5 separate regions of the Homo sapiens genome follow, and regions 1, 2, 3 and 5 are each linked to region 4. The links are contacts of gene promoters, found by promoter capture Hi-C in blood cells and fetal thymus (Javierre and others, 2016). All regions are on one chromosome and are shown on one strand. Each heading gives the region's core, a stretch centred on a gene start or on the middle of the fragment in contact. The rest is flanking DNA. Distances are from core to core; before and after follow the strand shown. Region 1 has its middle 75 kb from the start of TIAM1. Region 2 has its middle 37 kb from the start of TIAM1. Region 3 has its middle 54 kb from the start of TIAM1. Region 4 holds the start of TIAM1-AS1 (TIAM1 antisense RNA 1). Region 5 overlaps TIAM1 (TIAM Rac1 associated GEF 1).

Evidence for each region. The method cuts DNA at HindIII sites, captures the fragments that hold promoters and counts their contacts. A CHiCAGO score of 5 or more calls a contact.
Region 1: a contact is called between a fragment that was not itself captured here and the fragment with the promoter of TIAM1-AS1 in region 4, in 2 of 17 cell types (activated CD4 T cells and fetal thymus). The highest score is 7.7, in activated CD4 T cells.
Region 2: a contact is called between a fragment that was not itself captured here and the fragment with the promoter of TIAM1-AS1 in region 4, in 9 of 17 cell types (activated CD4 T cells, fetal thymus, naive CD4 T cells and 6 more). The highest score is 12.6, in activated CD4 T cells.
Region 3: a contact is called between a fragment that was not itself captured here and the fragment with the promoter of TIAM1-AS1 in region 4, in 3 of 17 cell types (fetal thymus, naive CD4 T cells and activated CD4 T cells). The highest score is 11.6, in fetal thymus.
Region 5: a contact is called between a fragment that was not itself captured here and the fragment with the promoter of TIAM1-AS1 in region 4, in 5 of 17 cell types (activated CD4 T cells, naive CD4 T cells, non-activated CD4 T cells and 2 more). The highest score is 15.4, in activated CD4 T cells.

What each region holds. Positions count from the first base shown.
Region 1 is chr21:31,417,569-31,420,304 of GRCh38, reverse strand. It overlaps a transcript of TIAM1 not described here. Among named protein-coding and RNA genes, the nearest start is that of TIAM1, 75 kb to the right of the region's middle. The HindIII fragment of the contact is 5,634 bases long and covers 1-2,736 here.
Region 2 is chr21:31,380,066-31,382,765 of GRCh38, reverse strand. It overlaps a transcript of TIAM1 not described here. Among named protein-coding and RNA genes, the nearest start is that of TIAM1, 37 kb to the right of the region's middle. The HindIII fragment of the contact is 3,733 bases long and covers 1-2,700 here.
Region 3 is chr21:31,396,684-31,399,383 of GRCh38, reverse strand. It overlaps a transcript of TIAM1 not described here. Among named protein-coding and RNA genes, the nearest start is that of TIAM1, 54 kb to the right of the region's middle. The HindIII fragment of the contact is 220 bases long and covers 1,205-1,424 here.
Region 4 is chr21:31,557,829-31,560,528 of GRCh38, reverse strand. It overlaps TIAM1-AS1 (TIAM1 antisense RNA 1), which reads right to left and starts at 1,296. Exons shown (of 2, transcript NR_171013.1): 1 at 934-1,296; 2 at 42-512. It also overlaps a transcript of TIAM1 not described here. RefSeq lists a silencer at 948-1,577 and enhancers at 857-1,669, 2,483-2,700. The HindIII fragment of the contact is 6,855 bases long and covers 1-2,700 here.
Region 5 is chr21:31,305,604-31,308,315 of GRCh38, reverse strand. All of the region lies in intron 2 of TIAM1 (TIAM Rac1 associated GEF 1), which reads left to right. Among named protein-coding and RNA genes, the nearest start is that of TIAM1, 37 kb to the left of the region's middle. The HindIII fragment of the contact is 5,166 bases long and covers 1-2,712 here.

The DNA of each region.
Region 1 (2,736 bases), core at 207-2,706, 140 kb after region 4:
AGGCTGATGTGGCTGTCCTGGGCTATGAGCTGTTTTGTCCCTTTCAAGGCTTGTTTTCTATACCATGACATATCATTATTATTATGTGGCAAAGTCAGGAAATTGCATCTCATCCAACCTTGCCCATTTGCTAGGTTCTCAGGTAGCTCAGGTTCTCCTGACAGATATTTTTCCTAAAGTCGCTTTTTCAAAAATTGCAGAGAAGTTTCTTATAAGGATGTTATATAGTTTATTTATTTTTTATTTTTAGTTTTTGAGACGGAGTTTTGCTTTTGTTGCCCAGGCTGGAGTGCAATAGCACGATCTTGGCTCGCTGCAGCCTCCACCTCTCGGGTTCAAGCGATTCTCCTGCCTCAGCCTCCCAAGTAGCTGGGACCACAGACGCGCCACCACGCTTGGATAATTTTTGTATTTTTAGTAGAGACGGGGTTTCACCATGTTGGCTAGGCTGGTCTTGAACTCCTGACCTCAGGTGATCCACCCGCCTTGACCTCCCAAAGTGCTGGGATTACAGGTGTAAGCCACCACGCTCAGTCTAGGATGTTATGTAGTTTATTTAATTGCTTCTTTTTGCTCATCATTTTGTTTTCCACTTTTGTTTTTCTACTTGTGGGGTGTATTAACTTCTTTGTGTGTAAATCTTTGTATCTTTTATTCCATCCTTAGATTAAAAATTTTAAACACAGATTTACTGGAAAAAGAGTTTAAACTGTTAAACGCATCTAATGCATATTATTGCTGAATTAGTGTCCAGAAAGAGGGTTTTAAATGCTGTCATCAGCGTCTGGACATACTAGTATTAACAGCTCACTTGTAAGTGTTGCTGAAGATTTTGTATCTCCGAAGGATCAAGATCTTGGGGAGGATGGCATTTAACTGAAGGTGAGTCTTCTGTTCCTTGAATAGATGTTTTAGATGACACATCGCTCTACAAGGTGCGTCACTGTCCTGTTTTTATCACTCTATTGTTTAATGATGATGCATCTATTGCTTATGGTACCAGTGAATGTTTCCATTATTTTACTTTACTTAACATGAATTTCTCACGCATTCATGTGCAGCTGAAGAGAATTAGCAATAATGATCCCAATAATAACTCCCCTTTGCTGAGTACCATCCTTGTGCTGAGTGCTCTTCATACGTGAATCTCACTGAATACCGATTTTTGGAGGAGAAGCGAGGAGGTTGGAGGAGTTTAGTTACCAGGGTCTCAGGCTGAGTTGATTCCAGAGCTGAAGCTCCTTCAGGAGGGTCACTGGCCAGCCCTGGTGTGCCCGGCAGATCTCGTGGAGACCATGGGAGGTGCAGAGAAGAGTAATTTGCACACATCTTCAACCTAGGATTACTGGGCTAGACCGCTCGGTGGGGGCTGGGCTTCAAAGCCACCTGAGTGTGTGACCTTGACTCCTTTTTCTTTCCTTCAACTGCAGTAAAAGAAACGGTAGTTCTAAGAGGCCTCGCCACCCTGCTTGCAGCAAAAGGCCTCTCTCTGAAGCTGATTCTGTGCAAAGTCCAGTGTCGCTGGTATTTTCAGGGCGACTTTCTTCTCTGGCGGTGTGTTTTCCTCTGTTTCCAGGGGAGCTCCCAAGAGAAGGTTGTCTCTCAGTCTCCTTTTCATTTGAGGTGACCCCTCTAACTCCTGTGTTTAAAGCTGGGCTGCACTTACTGCTAACCTTTCTAATAGCTTCTGTGGAGTTGGCCTGAAAAACTACAGAGAGCTCTCCTTTCATCCCTCGCCAGGATGCTGCAGGTCTTTGTATCTGCAGCCACCGGGGTAGGGGAGAGTGGACACCCTTGGCCATTTTCTTAAATCCAAGTTGGTAGCTGGTGTTTTCAGTCCCTGCCTGAAAACAGCAGCTGTTTAATTTGCATTTGGATGCTGCTTTTTCTCTTGCCTTCCCACCACCCTGTGTCTAAACAGTAGCCAGAGGGCAACTTTTTTTTTTTTTTTTTTTTTTTTTTTGAGACAGAGTCTCGCTCTGTCGCCCAGGCTGGAGTGCAGTGGCGTGATCTCGGCTCACCTCAACTTCCGCCTGCCGGGTTCAAGTGATTCTCCTGTCTCAGCCTCCCGAGTAGCTGGGATTACAGGCGTGTGCCACCACGCCCTGCTAATTTTTGTACTTTCAGTAGAGATGGGGTTTCGCCATGTTGGCCAGGCTGGTCTCAAACTCCTGACCTCAAGTGATCTGCCAAAGTGCTGGGATTACAGGTATGAGCCACCGCACCTGGCCTAGAGGGCACCTTTTTAAAAGTCAGATAGTGTCACTCTGCTCAGTACCTTTTGGGCCTTTCCAATTGCCCCGAAATAAAAACTGAAGGGCTCACAGTGGTTCCTGGCTGACTTGAGCTGCCCCTTCCCATCTTCAATTTCTCTCTCTCTCCACTCAGCTGTTGCTCATTCATATGGCAAGTGCCAGCCTCAAGCCTCTTGTCCTGTGTCTCTCTACCTGGAGCACTCTTCCCCAGGTAGTTACATAATGTACCCCCTTCAGGTGTGGGTTCTGTCATGTTTCTTTTTCAGCGAGACTGTCCCTGGTCATCCTGTTGAAAACCTCCATGTCCCTGACTGCACAGGTAGAGTGTGGCAGGAATTGACCTGCAGGTGTACATCTGTTCTCTTCTGTCCCTGATGGCAAGTGCTTGCTTTTTGCTTGTTAGGACACTGATATAGTTTGGCTGTGTCCCCACCCAAATCTCATCTTGAATTGTAGCTCCCATAATTCTCACGTATTGTGG
Region 2 (2,700 bases), core at 87-2,586, 180 kb after region 4:
AGTTTGTTTGCCGTGTTTTTTGTAGCAAAGACCTTGACTTTTGTGATCTCATTTAAAATATCACCAATTGACTGACATGTTAAAAAAATCTGTTTTATAAACTGTCAAAAGAAAAAGCATAGGTACTTCAATCCTCTCATTCAGTGTGCTACATCCGTCTCATTAATTGCCTTTTCAGAGAGCAGTGTCATTGGAGGTAGTCAGTCTTTCGGAAAAAAACAGATCAAAGAGTTGTCAGGAGGTTGTTTGGCTCTGAGATAATTCATTTCTTGCTTTCTTTCATGAGATACATAGGAGTGTGGTAGCTAATGATCAGAAATGTGGAAATTGGAAATTGAAATGTATCTATTTGATCCTTGTACCTTGGTCAAAATACACAATTAATCTGTCTGCTTTTTATTTTCTTCTGCCCTTATGTTCTAGACACGGCGTAAATCTCAAGTCATGCCTTTTGTCACCTATGATTTTAGCCAATGGTTTCTAGTTACCTTGTGGTTTTTCATACGGATATACAGTGCGCTGATAAGCGTTCAAACATCTAGCCCCAGAGGTCTCTGGTGTTTGGATAAGAGTTAGCAAAAGCATATTGCATGGGAGATGTGCTTATCATTTTGTTCCTTTCCTTCCCTCTTTTCATTCTCTAATTCAAGAATTTCTGCTTGACCCAGTTTAAATGTCTTCTGCACAAGTCTCTCCTCATAATGCTTTATTGGTCTTTGTCTTAGGCAGTTTGAACTGCTATAGTGAAATACCACAAACTGGGCAGCTTAATCAACAAACATTTATTTCTCACAGTTCTGAAGGTGAGGAAGTCCAAGACCAAGGTCCCTGATGATTGGGTTCCTGGTTTGAAGACAGCCTCTCTCTATATATATCCTGACATGGCAGAGAGAGAGGATGTCTCTAGTGTCTGTTCTTTTTGTTTTTTATTTTTGAGACAGGGTCTTACTCTGTCACCCAGACTGGAGTGCAATGGTGTGATCATGGCTCACTGCAGCCTCGACCTCCCAGCCTCAGGTGATGCTCCCACCACAGCCTCCCAAATAGCTGGGACTACAGGTGTACACCACCATGTCTGGCTATTTTTTTGTTTTCTTTGAGACAGAGTCTCACTCTGTTGCCCAGGCTGGAGTGCAGTGGCGTGATCTCAGCTCACTGCAACCTCCGCCTCCCATGTTCAAGTGATTCCTGTTCCTCAGCCTCTCGAGTAGCTGGGAGTACAGGCGTGTACCATCATGCCCAGCTAATTTTTGTATTTTTAGTAGAGACAGGGATTCACCATGTTGGCCAGGCTGGTCCCGAACTCCTGGCCTCAAGTGATCCACCTGCCACGGCCTCCCAAAGTGCCAGGATTACAGGTGTGAGCCACTGTGCCCGGCTGCCTGGCTAATTTTGTCTATTTTTTGTAGAGGTGGGGTTTCAGCATGTTGTCTAGGCTGGTAGTGTCTCTTCTTATAAGAGCACTAATACCATTCATGAGGGCTCCACTCATGTCTAATCACCCCGCAAAGGCCCCACCTCCAAATACCATCACCTTAGGGATTAGAATTTCAACATACGGATTTTGCGGGGACACAGATGTTCAGTCCATAGCATTCTTATTATTGCAGCACTAAACAGTCAGCTTGGTGTCATAATCTAATAGAAGAAAGGGACTGTATTATCTGTGTCTTCTAGCAAGGTTTAGTATATTGCACACAAGTACTTGGTTTTGTTGTTGTTATTTATTTACTTATAAAGTTACTGTTTGAGTGCTGCACTGTGTCAGGTACTCACTCATCGGTGAAAGAAGCACTATTATTTTCCTCATTTTACCTATAGAGAAGCTGGGGCTTGGGGGAGGATCCCAGGTCATTCAACATGTGAGTGAAGGGGTTGGGACTTAAACCTAGTTTTATTCTAAAGCCCCTGTCCCTAACCGATCCGGTACAATGCAAATTATATGGAATTAACTATATAAACTGCTTTATGAACATTGTGGATATGTTAAATTTAGGATTTTGACCCACATTTTAATGAACTAAAAAAAGTAGGGTATTGAGTCTATTCCTTTTCTTTATACTGTGGTAATAGATTAATTATCCTCTGATGGATTTTTTAAAAAACAGCTTTATTGAACTATAATTCATACCCCTTTCGAATCATCCATTTAAAATGTACACTTCCATAATTTTTTTATTTTTATATTTACTTTACTTTATATTATATTACTTTATTTTTTTGAGATGGAATTTCGCTCTTGTTGCCCAGGCTGGAGTGCAATGGTGTGATCTCAGCTCACTGCATCCTCCGCCTCCTGGATTCAAGTGATTCTCCTGCCTCAGCCTCCCAAGTAACTGAGATTACCGGCATGTGCCACCACACCCAGCTAACTTTGTATTTTTAGTAGAGACAGGGTTTCACCATGTTGGACAGGCTGGTCTCGAACTCCTGACCTCAAGTGATCCACCCACCTCGGCCTCCCAAAGTGCTGGGATTACAGCGTGAGCCACTTAACATTTATTGTTTGAGACAAAGTCTCACTATTTCGCTCAGGCTAGAGTGCGGTGGCGTGCTCCAACTGCAACCTCCACCTCTCAGGTTCAAGCGATTCTCATGCCCAGCCTCCCGAGTAGCTGAGATTACAGGTGTGCACCACCATGCCTGGCCAATTTTTTGTATTTTTAGTAGAGACAGGGTTTCACCATGTTGGTCATGCTG
Region 3 (2,700 bases), core at 65-2,564, 160 kb after region 4:
TTATTTTTAAAACTTTAATAGATTGTAATATATCTTAAATCAAAATCGGTTTGAAATGGCACGAAGTATTTAAGGATATTCTCATATAAATTTTAAAGAGAGAACTTATCCAAGCCAATATTAAAAAAAAATAATTTCCTTGCTTTATAGACAAATTTTAGTATATCTCAGGGGGCATTGATGTTATATCTAAAATGTCAAAGTAAGATTTATAATAATAGAAATTTATTACTCTTTATTATACATAGTATAAATGAGTAAAGCAACCAATTCCGCCTTGTGGAATTAATTTTGGCTTTGCTGTTTCTTTTTAGTTTCTGGCAAAGGCTATTTTTATTTTATTTTATTTATCTATTTATTTTATGTTTTTAGTGGAGATGGGGTTTCTCCATGTTGGCTAAGCTGGTCTCGAACTCCTGGCCTCAGGTGAGCTGCCAGCCTCAGCCTCCCAAAGTGCTGGGATTATAGGCGTGAGCCACCGGGCCCATCCCAAAGGCTATTTTTAATAGTTTGAGAAGAGTCAGAGCCTGGGTGATAAGAGATGCTGACGTTTACATTTCTCTTTCTTCTTCAGTTTCACAAGATAAGTGATCAACTCTGTATTCTCATATCACACTAAATCGTTCTCCATATCTGCCCAGGCACAGACGGAAGCCTGCTTAGATATTTATCAAAGTGGCTAATGCCCTTGTTATTGTAATTGGTCATAATTTTTCTCCTTTACTGAGGGAGCACAAAGAATTTTCCTGTCTGGGAACTGTGTACTGTGCTATGAGGATGGCAAACTTCTGCCTACAGTTGGAATTTTGCAGTGATAGCACATCCACCATTTCTTTATGTGCTTGGTCAGGTGTTTAGATATTTGAAGTGTGATGGAGAATACAAAAGATGTGGGCTACTTCCCATGGCTATGTTATTTCTCATTTTTAGTGGAGTAAAATTATGTGGTGGTTTATTTAAGAAAAAATTTTTGACATTTTCTTCAGTAACACAAACCATTACCACTGTGTGGGAAAACTGACCAGGTCTCCCCCAGGCCCAGCTTATCCACAGTTCTTCATTCAGAAGGATGGCATAAAAAGTAAGATTGTTTTACAATTTTACACGCCTTTCTGAAAACAGGTGCTTCCTTTGTGAATTCAAGTTAGTGAATTGATGTGGTCATTTCAACCTAGTTTCAACTCTGGTTCTAAAGAACAAAGCTTTTTTTTTTTTTTTTTTTTTTGCCCTGAAGATTGACATTTGCTTGCAGAGATTAGGCACTTCCTGTGCCCCTGGGTCCCATTCTGCTGGTGCAGAGGGGAGGTTGGGGGAGGTTGTAGGGGGGAGGTCAAAGGGAAGCCAACACATTGGTCCATGTACATCCCATGGCAGTGGGAGGTACTTGGAGTCTGTGCAGATCTGCACAGGGGCAGGCTGAAGCTTGCTTAGAAGTTTATCAGGTATTCCATGGTTCATCCATTCTACAAGGTAGCAGGGAAGAATTCTGAAGTTCCTTTGTTATCTGTAAATGGTTAGTGTGAGACCTGTTGCCTCTGTCCCTTCTCATTTCCCTGTTTTCCATGTCTTTCGTTTTGCCCTGGCAGAAAGCAGCCCAGCATCTTCACATTCTGACTTCTGGAATGGAATGAAAGCGTTTCTTTCTGTATAGAGAGGTTTGTTTTACACAGAGCTGCCTTTGACTGGGAAGACTCCCCCTAACAGATTTGGATCATAACGTGTTGGCACCAAGCCAGGAAGGATGGCCATAAATTGTAATTTGAATGAGGTTTCACCAGCTCTTTGTCCTGTTATCTCATTTCTGGCGCGGGGATATTGGGCAACTTAAACCAGGAGCTGATTTGGTCAATGTGATTTTCATGATTTAAATTAGAAATGTTCATTTTGGGTGGCAGGTATCAAGATTTTTGTATATTGGTTTCTACTTCTGAATTTTTTTCAAAGGAATTAAAATGGGAGGAAAAGAGGAGAGAAAGGAAAAGAGGAAGGAAGCGGTTTGAAACATGGACCCTTAGAGCTTTTGGATGCAAAAAGATCTGTATAGGAATTTGGCACTTGCTGTATATGTGACTTTGAACAACTTCTCTGCCTCAGTTTTTTGCTGTTTATAAAATGACACTTACAAACGGGCATGATAGTTCTTTGTTAAGAGATCATATCTCTTCAGAGCCAAACATAGTGCTTAGAATATAAAAGATACCTAAAAAATCCTAATTCCCTTTCATTACCTCTTTGATGTTACATCTAAAGATCTGCTGCTAAGTTGAACACAGACTTTATCACTTCCAGGCTGGTCTGAATATAGGTCTTGCTAGAATGTTGTTCGCTTAAATACAATCATATCACAGCGATCGAAGGATCCCTTTGCTTTGGTTTCTTTCCACTATTAGAAAAGTGGAAGGGCATAAAATATTATTTAAATTTTTTTTGTGTGTGTGACGGAGTCTCACTCTGTCGCCCAGGCTGGAGTGCAGTGGCGCGATCTCGGTTCACTGCAACCTCCACCCCAGGTTCAAGTGATTCTCCTGTCTCAGCCTCCTGAGTAGCTCGGATTACAGGCATCTGCTACCAGGCCCGGCTAATTTTTGTATTTTTAGTAAAGGTGGGGTTTCACCATGTGAAGCCAGGCTGGTCTTGAGCTCCTGACCTCAAGTGATCCGCCCACCTTGGCCTCCCAAAGTGCTGGCATTACAGGCATGA
Region 4 (2,700 bases), core at 47-2,546:
TGGGGGTTGACGTGTTCTGGGGAAAGAAAAGAGACCCAGAGTTGGGAGCGCAAAATGAGATTTTTCTGCTTAGAAGGATCATTCTGCAAAGTGGAGAACAGATTTCAGGGGGCAAGGCCTGGGACAGAAGGACGATGGGAGCCCTTTACTGAGGTCCAGGTGAGACAGGATGGGAGGAATGGGTTTGGGAGGTTAACAAAAATGGATGGGAGAGGGTTAAGAAGAAGGAGGAATCAGGGATGACTTTCAATTTTCCGGTTTAGGTTTATCTTCCACAGCGTGGGCAATTCTTTTTGTTTTCAACAAGATCACCCCGGGAGCGCAGACCTTCCCAGCTCCCGGGGCGAACACGTGTGTATGGAATCAAGGTGTAAGGAACATACATCCCAGCCTTTGTTGTAAATGGGGAAGTCTAGAGCTCTTCAGGAGAGGAGGAAGCTCCGGCCTCGTGTAGGGAAAGGTTTCGCTCGAGGCTGTACCGCCAGCGTCTCCGTTTCCGCGTTCTCCACAACCTTGCGAGAGGTAAACTGCAACTGTAGTTTCCGGATTTTACAGAGGAGCCCAGGAGGTCTGCGTGAACCCTGCCCGAGTCACTTACTCTGCCCAGCAGGTAAGCGTAAGGCCCAAACCCCACGCTGTTATTCCAAGTTCGCTTGCTGGGCACGGTAAGTGAACCCTGGGAGTCCTGGACTCTGGTGAAGGCCACCATGCCCTACCTGGAGGCTGCTCAGGGTCTAACATCCTCTAGCATCCACGGGAAGGGATTGCGTTAGGATTTTTTTCTCTCGTAAAAAAGTTCCTGTCTCCCCCTAGAGCCAGGCACACGCCTCCCGCGCCAGACCACTTGTCCCAGGCACAACATTTTTTGACTCTTCGCCTCCCCCGTTTCGATCCCCCTTCCTCTCCGCCTTAGGTGGCAGGAAAATCCTTTACCTCCGACCAATCCCACCGATGCCGAGCCGCGCGCGCGCGCCAACTAGAGCTCCGTCTGTGCACGCCATTGGCCACCTCCACCTATGCGAGATGACAGGCAGCTTCGCGGACCTATCGCCGAGGGAGGCAGAGGCCTCCGGCCCTCCCAAAGCTGCTTTGTTAGGGGCTCCCTGGTCGTCCCCCGGCCCGCCGCGCCTCCGCTGCCTGCGGGCGATCTCCCCGGGCCGCGCTGACGGAGCCTCGCAGGAAGGCATCTCTGGAGCGCGCGCCGCCCGCGCCCCTCCAGCCGCGCGCTCCGAGCCTGGCTGCGGCGCGGATACCCGGCGTGCGCCCATAGTCGCTCTACAGCCCAACTCCGAACGCCCCGCTCCTGCATCCACCGCCTCGGATTGGCTGGCCGGAGGCGGAGCGATTGTCAGGCGGCCCAATCGGAGCTCGGTTTCCCACGGGCTCCCGCGGCCCGGCCCCCGAGGCCGCAGGCGGAGGGGCCCTGACAGCTCCGATTGGCAGACCACGAGCGGGTTCGAGCGCGGCCGGCAGAGCAGCGCCGCCGCCGTCGGGCGCGCAGCTCTGCAGCTCCGCGGACGCCTTGGCGCCCGCAGCCCCAGGGGCACGGCTGCCCCGCATCGTGCCCGGCCCCGTCGCGGAGATCCCGGACGACCGTCGCGGGTGAGTACCGCGGGCCTGGGGTGCGCGGGCGTCCGGCCGGAGCCGCCCCGGGAGACGGCGGCGAGGATGCCCGGAGCCTCGGTGCCCGTGCCGGGCACGTTCTGACCCCCGTCTCCCGCACACTGGGGCTCCCGGCGGGTCCTAGCTCCCCCCGATCGGGCTTTCCACGTATTGTTTTCGTGTTCACACACTTGGGAGGTGGGGAGATGCGGGGAGGAGAGGCAGGAGGAGGCATCCCTCGCGCGAAGGAGGGAGACGAGACCGTGCAGCCCAGGTGCCTTCGCTGGATGGAAATGACAGCGTCCGGACGTCGGCATTCGGTCCTCTCGGCAGCAGGAGGTCAGCGCTGACCTGCGGCGGCCGCGGCACTTTGTATTTTATCGGCTGATTTTTGTCAACTTCGGGGAGGGCGTGCTTGTGCATCCTTGTGTCTATGTTTGCGTCTCGGTCCCTGACTTAGGCACCTCCGGGCCTGGCTTTTCGGCGACGCGTCCTGGGCGCTCACCTTGGCGATCCGTGCCGCCCTCGGGGCCGGGCTCACCGGGCGGAAAGCCCGGGGGCCGGCGCACGGAGCTGGGGACCCGCGACGAACCCCCGGAGGGGGGCATTAAAAGCGGAATCCTGCGGGTGCGCAGACAATGCCTCATCCGGGCGGTCGGGTCCCGGGGACTGTGCCCTGGGTCCCCGCGCCCTATCCCGTCCCCGCCTCGCCCTCTCACCAGCTCTGCCGCTGCGATGCTGCTGCGCCGCGCCCCTCGCCACCCGGCTGGGGACCCGCGTGGGGCCCGCTTTTGTTTACAGACCTCGCCATTGGGCGAGAGCAGCGCGCCGTGCGCCCCCCAGCCCCGGCGGCTGCCGCTTGCCCCCTCGAAACCTGGAGAAGTTGTTGCGCGCTGTCAGGTGACGCCCCCTCCCCCCGGCCGCGGGGCGGGATGCTGCAGGGGAAAGATGCCGTCTCGGCGCCTTCGCGCCCAGCCCCCGCCGCGCACGGCGCCTCTAGGTCCCCTGCACCCGGGGGCGCCCGTGTCCCAGCCTGGGGTCCAGGCTGGCGGCCCTCGGGGCGCCGACTCGGCCACACTCACCCGGTTCCAGTCGTCG
Region 5 (2,712 bases), core at 125-2,624, 250 kb after region 4:
GAGGTTACCTACCTTGCCTAAGGTCATGCAGACGAACCATTGTGCAGCTTTTAGTTTTTTGTTTTGAGATGACATTTCACTCCATCTCCCAGGCTGGAGTGCAGTGGCGCGATCTTAGCTCACTGCAACTTCCACCTCCTAGGCTCAATCAGTCCTCCTACTTTAGCCTCCCGAATAGCTGGGTCTACAGGTGCACACCACCACGCCCAACTAATTTTTGTAGTTTTTGTAGAGATGAGGTTTTGCCATGTTACCCAGGCTGGTCTTGAACCCTGACAGGGATTCCGATTTCGTTTCTCAAGTGATCTGCCTGCCTTGGCCTCCCAAAATGCTAGGATTACAGGTGTGAGCTGCCGCACCCAGCCCATTGTATAGTATTGACTCTGATTGAATTAACTTGGCTCTCTTCTCCCCATCCTTTTATTTCACTTAGGGAAACCTCTATTTTTTATCTTGTAAATTCAACTGAGATTCTCCATCTTCCTGTAACCTTCCCTCCTCTCCAGTGTCTTCTTCCTGAACAGGATGGAGCCTGTACCGTCTAATGAGATAATGGCCCCTCTCCCCTTACCCCTCACTTGTCCAGAGGCATCTGTTTGCAAGCCCCTCCTTGCTAGACTTGAGCTCCTTGAAGACAGAACCAGGACCTGGCAAAAGGGGAGACCTTTATTAAATGCTGGTGGGGTTGATCAGAATTAGATGATCGCACCCACCTCCCCAATTTCCAGATAGCAAAACCAAGGCCCAGTGTGATACTGCCACAGAGTTCTCCGGGGTAGATCCGGGACTAGAACCCATGTGTTTGTTCAGTCTGTGACAGCATGGCCTTTGAAAGCAGAAGACCTGACAAGGATTCCTATTTGGTTCCTTAGTTCTGGCCGTGTTCTGGATGGTGTCCTGGGACTCTTGGATGCAGGAGGTGTTTCTTAGCCCTCCGTGTACTCAGAGGGTTGGTAATGGTCATAAGAGTGGCTTGGCATGAAAAGACAGAGCAAAGCCCTGAATTTGCACAACCTGCTGGCTGAGGGTGTGGATACTCTGGTGAGGACAAGAAGAGCACATTAACCCATGTGGCTAAAGGGCCTTTTGTTTTTTCTAATACAAAATTAGCAAATTTTATACATTGTCATTAATTCTCACATTAGTAGAATAAGTGATGTGGTAATTTGTGCCTCATTCCATTATATCAGTTATCCATATCTGTTTTCACCTGTATACATAACTAAGAATAAATCAGCCGTCGGGTTTGAGATTTTGTTTTTGTTTTGAAATTGACACAAACTTCTAGAAAAGTTGGCGATGCAATGCAGTATGAAGAATTTTATTTTCTCTAAATCATTCGAGAGTACCAAATGTCTTTGGCTCTTACCAAAGACATTAGTGTTTTTCAAGGCAACTGTTCTATACAGCCACCATACAGGGGTCAGAGTCACAGCATGAGCTGACCCATTCCTGCCAGTCAATCGGGGCGCTGGAAAACGGCGAAGGTTTCCAGTGGAGGATCATGCCTTGCCCGTGATTGTCTCGTGTCTTTAGACTCCTTCAGTCAGGAACAGTTGCACAGTCTTTCCTGGACTTACAACGTTGATACTTTGGAAGAGTCCAGGCAAGTTGTTGTGTAGAATGCCCCTCAGTTTGGTTTGCCCAGATGTTTTCTCACGATTCACTCCACATTGGATCGTTGCATCACTGGCAGACACATCACAGGCCACGATGTAGGGTGTCCTCCTCCTGTGTGTTCTCTGAGTGCTCCCGAAGTTGGCCTGTCCTACTTCTGATGCTGTCTACTCACCTTGGCCACTTGGTTAAGACAGCATTGCCAGCCTTCCCAGTTGTGAAGTTATTATTTTCCTCTTTGTGAAGGAAAGAAATGTTAGTAAATGTTTTGTGGGGGGATACTTTGAAATTATATAAGTCTCTTCTTTCTCATCAGATTTCCAATTTTATTTCTCTCTATATGGACTTGTAGTTTCCTATTTTATTCAGTGGGTTATAATCTGCTAGTAGTATTATTTATTGATTTTTTTTTTTAGAGACAGGGTCTTGCTCTTTCATCCAAGCCAGAGTGCAGTGGTGCAATCAGAACTCACCACAGCCTCAAACTCCTGGGCTCGAGCAATCCTCCTCCTTCAGCCTCTTAAATAGCTGGGACTACAGGTGCATGTCACCATGCCTGGCTTATTTTTAAATTTTTTGTAGAGATGAGGTCTTGGTGGGTTGCCAGGCCATTCTGTTATTTATTTTGGTACTCAAATTGTCCCTGATTTGGCCTGCAGGCACCCCTTCAAGTGTGCTCCTCTGTCTCGTTGTGTGCCACCATCCTGTGCTCTGCCTGGATTGTGAGGACACTGGCGGTTCCTCCCCTGGGGGACTTGCCCTTTGGGGCTTCTGACACCACCATGGCAGTCACCCCCGTGAGCAGACACCTTCTGGCTCCAGTCACCACGTTTTTAAAAAAAGTATATCTTGTAGTTAGATTGGGTTAAATAAGCCATAGACATTTTTTTTTCCTGGAGGTTTTAGGGAGAATTGTTTTTGTGCCTAAATTGAAAAAATGAGGCCTGTTTAGAATTCATAAACTGGCACAGAAGGGTAGCTCTGCGCCTCCAGGCAAATTCTCATACAAATTATTAAAAGACTCAGGAGGGGTTCAGTCATGTTAAAACCCCAGTTTGAAAATGTCGTAATCACTTTTCTCTCAGCAACTGGCCG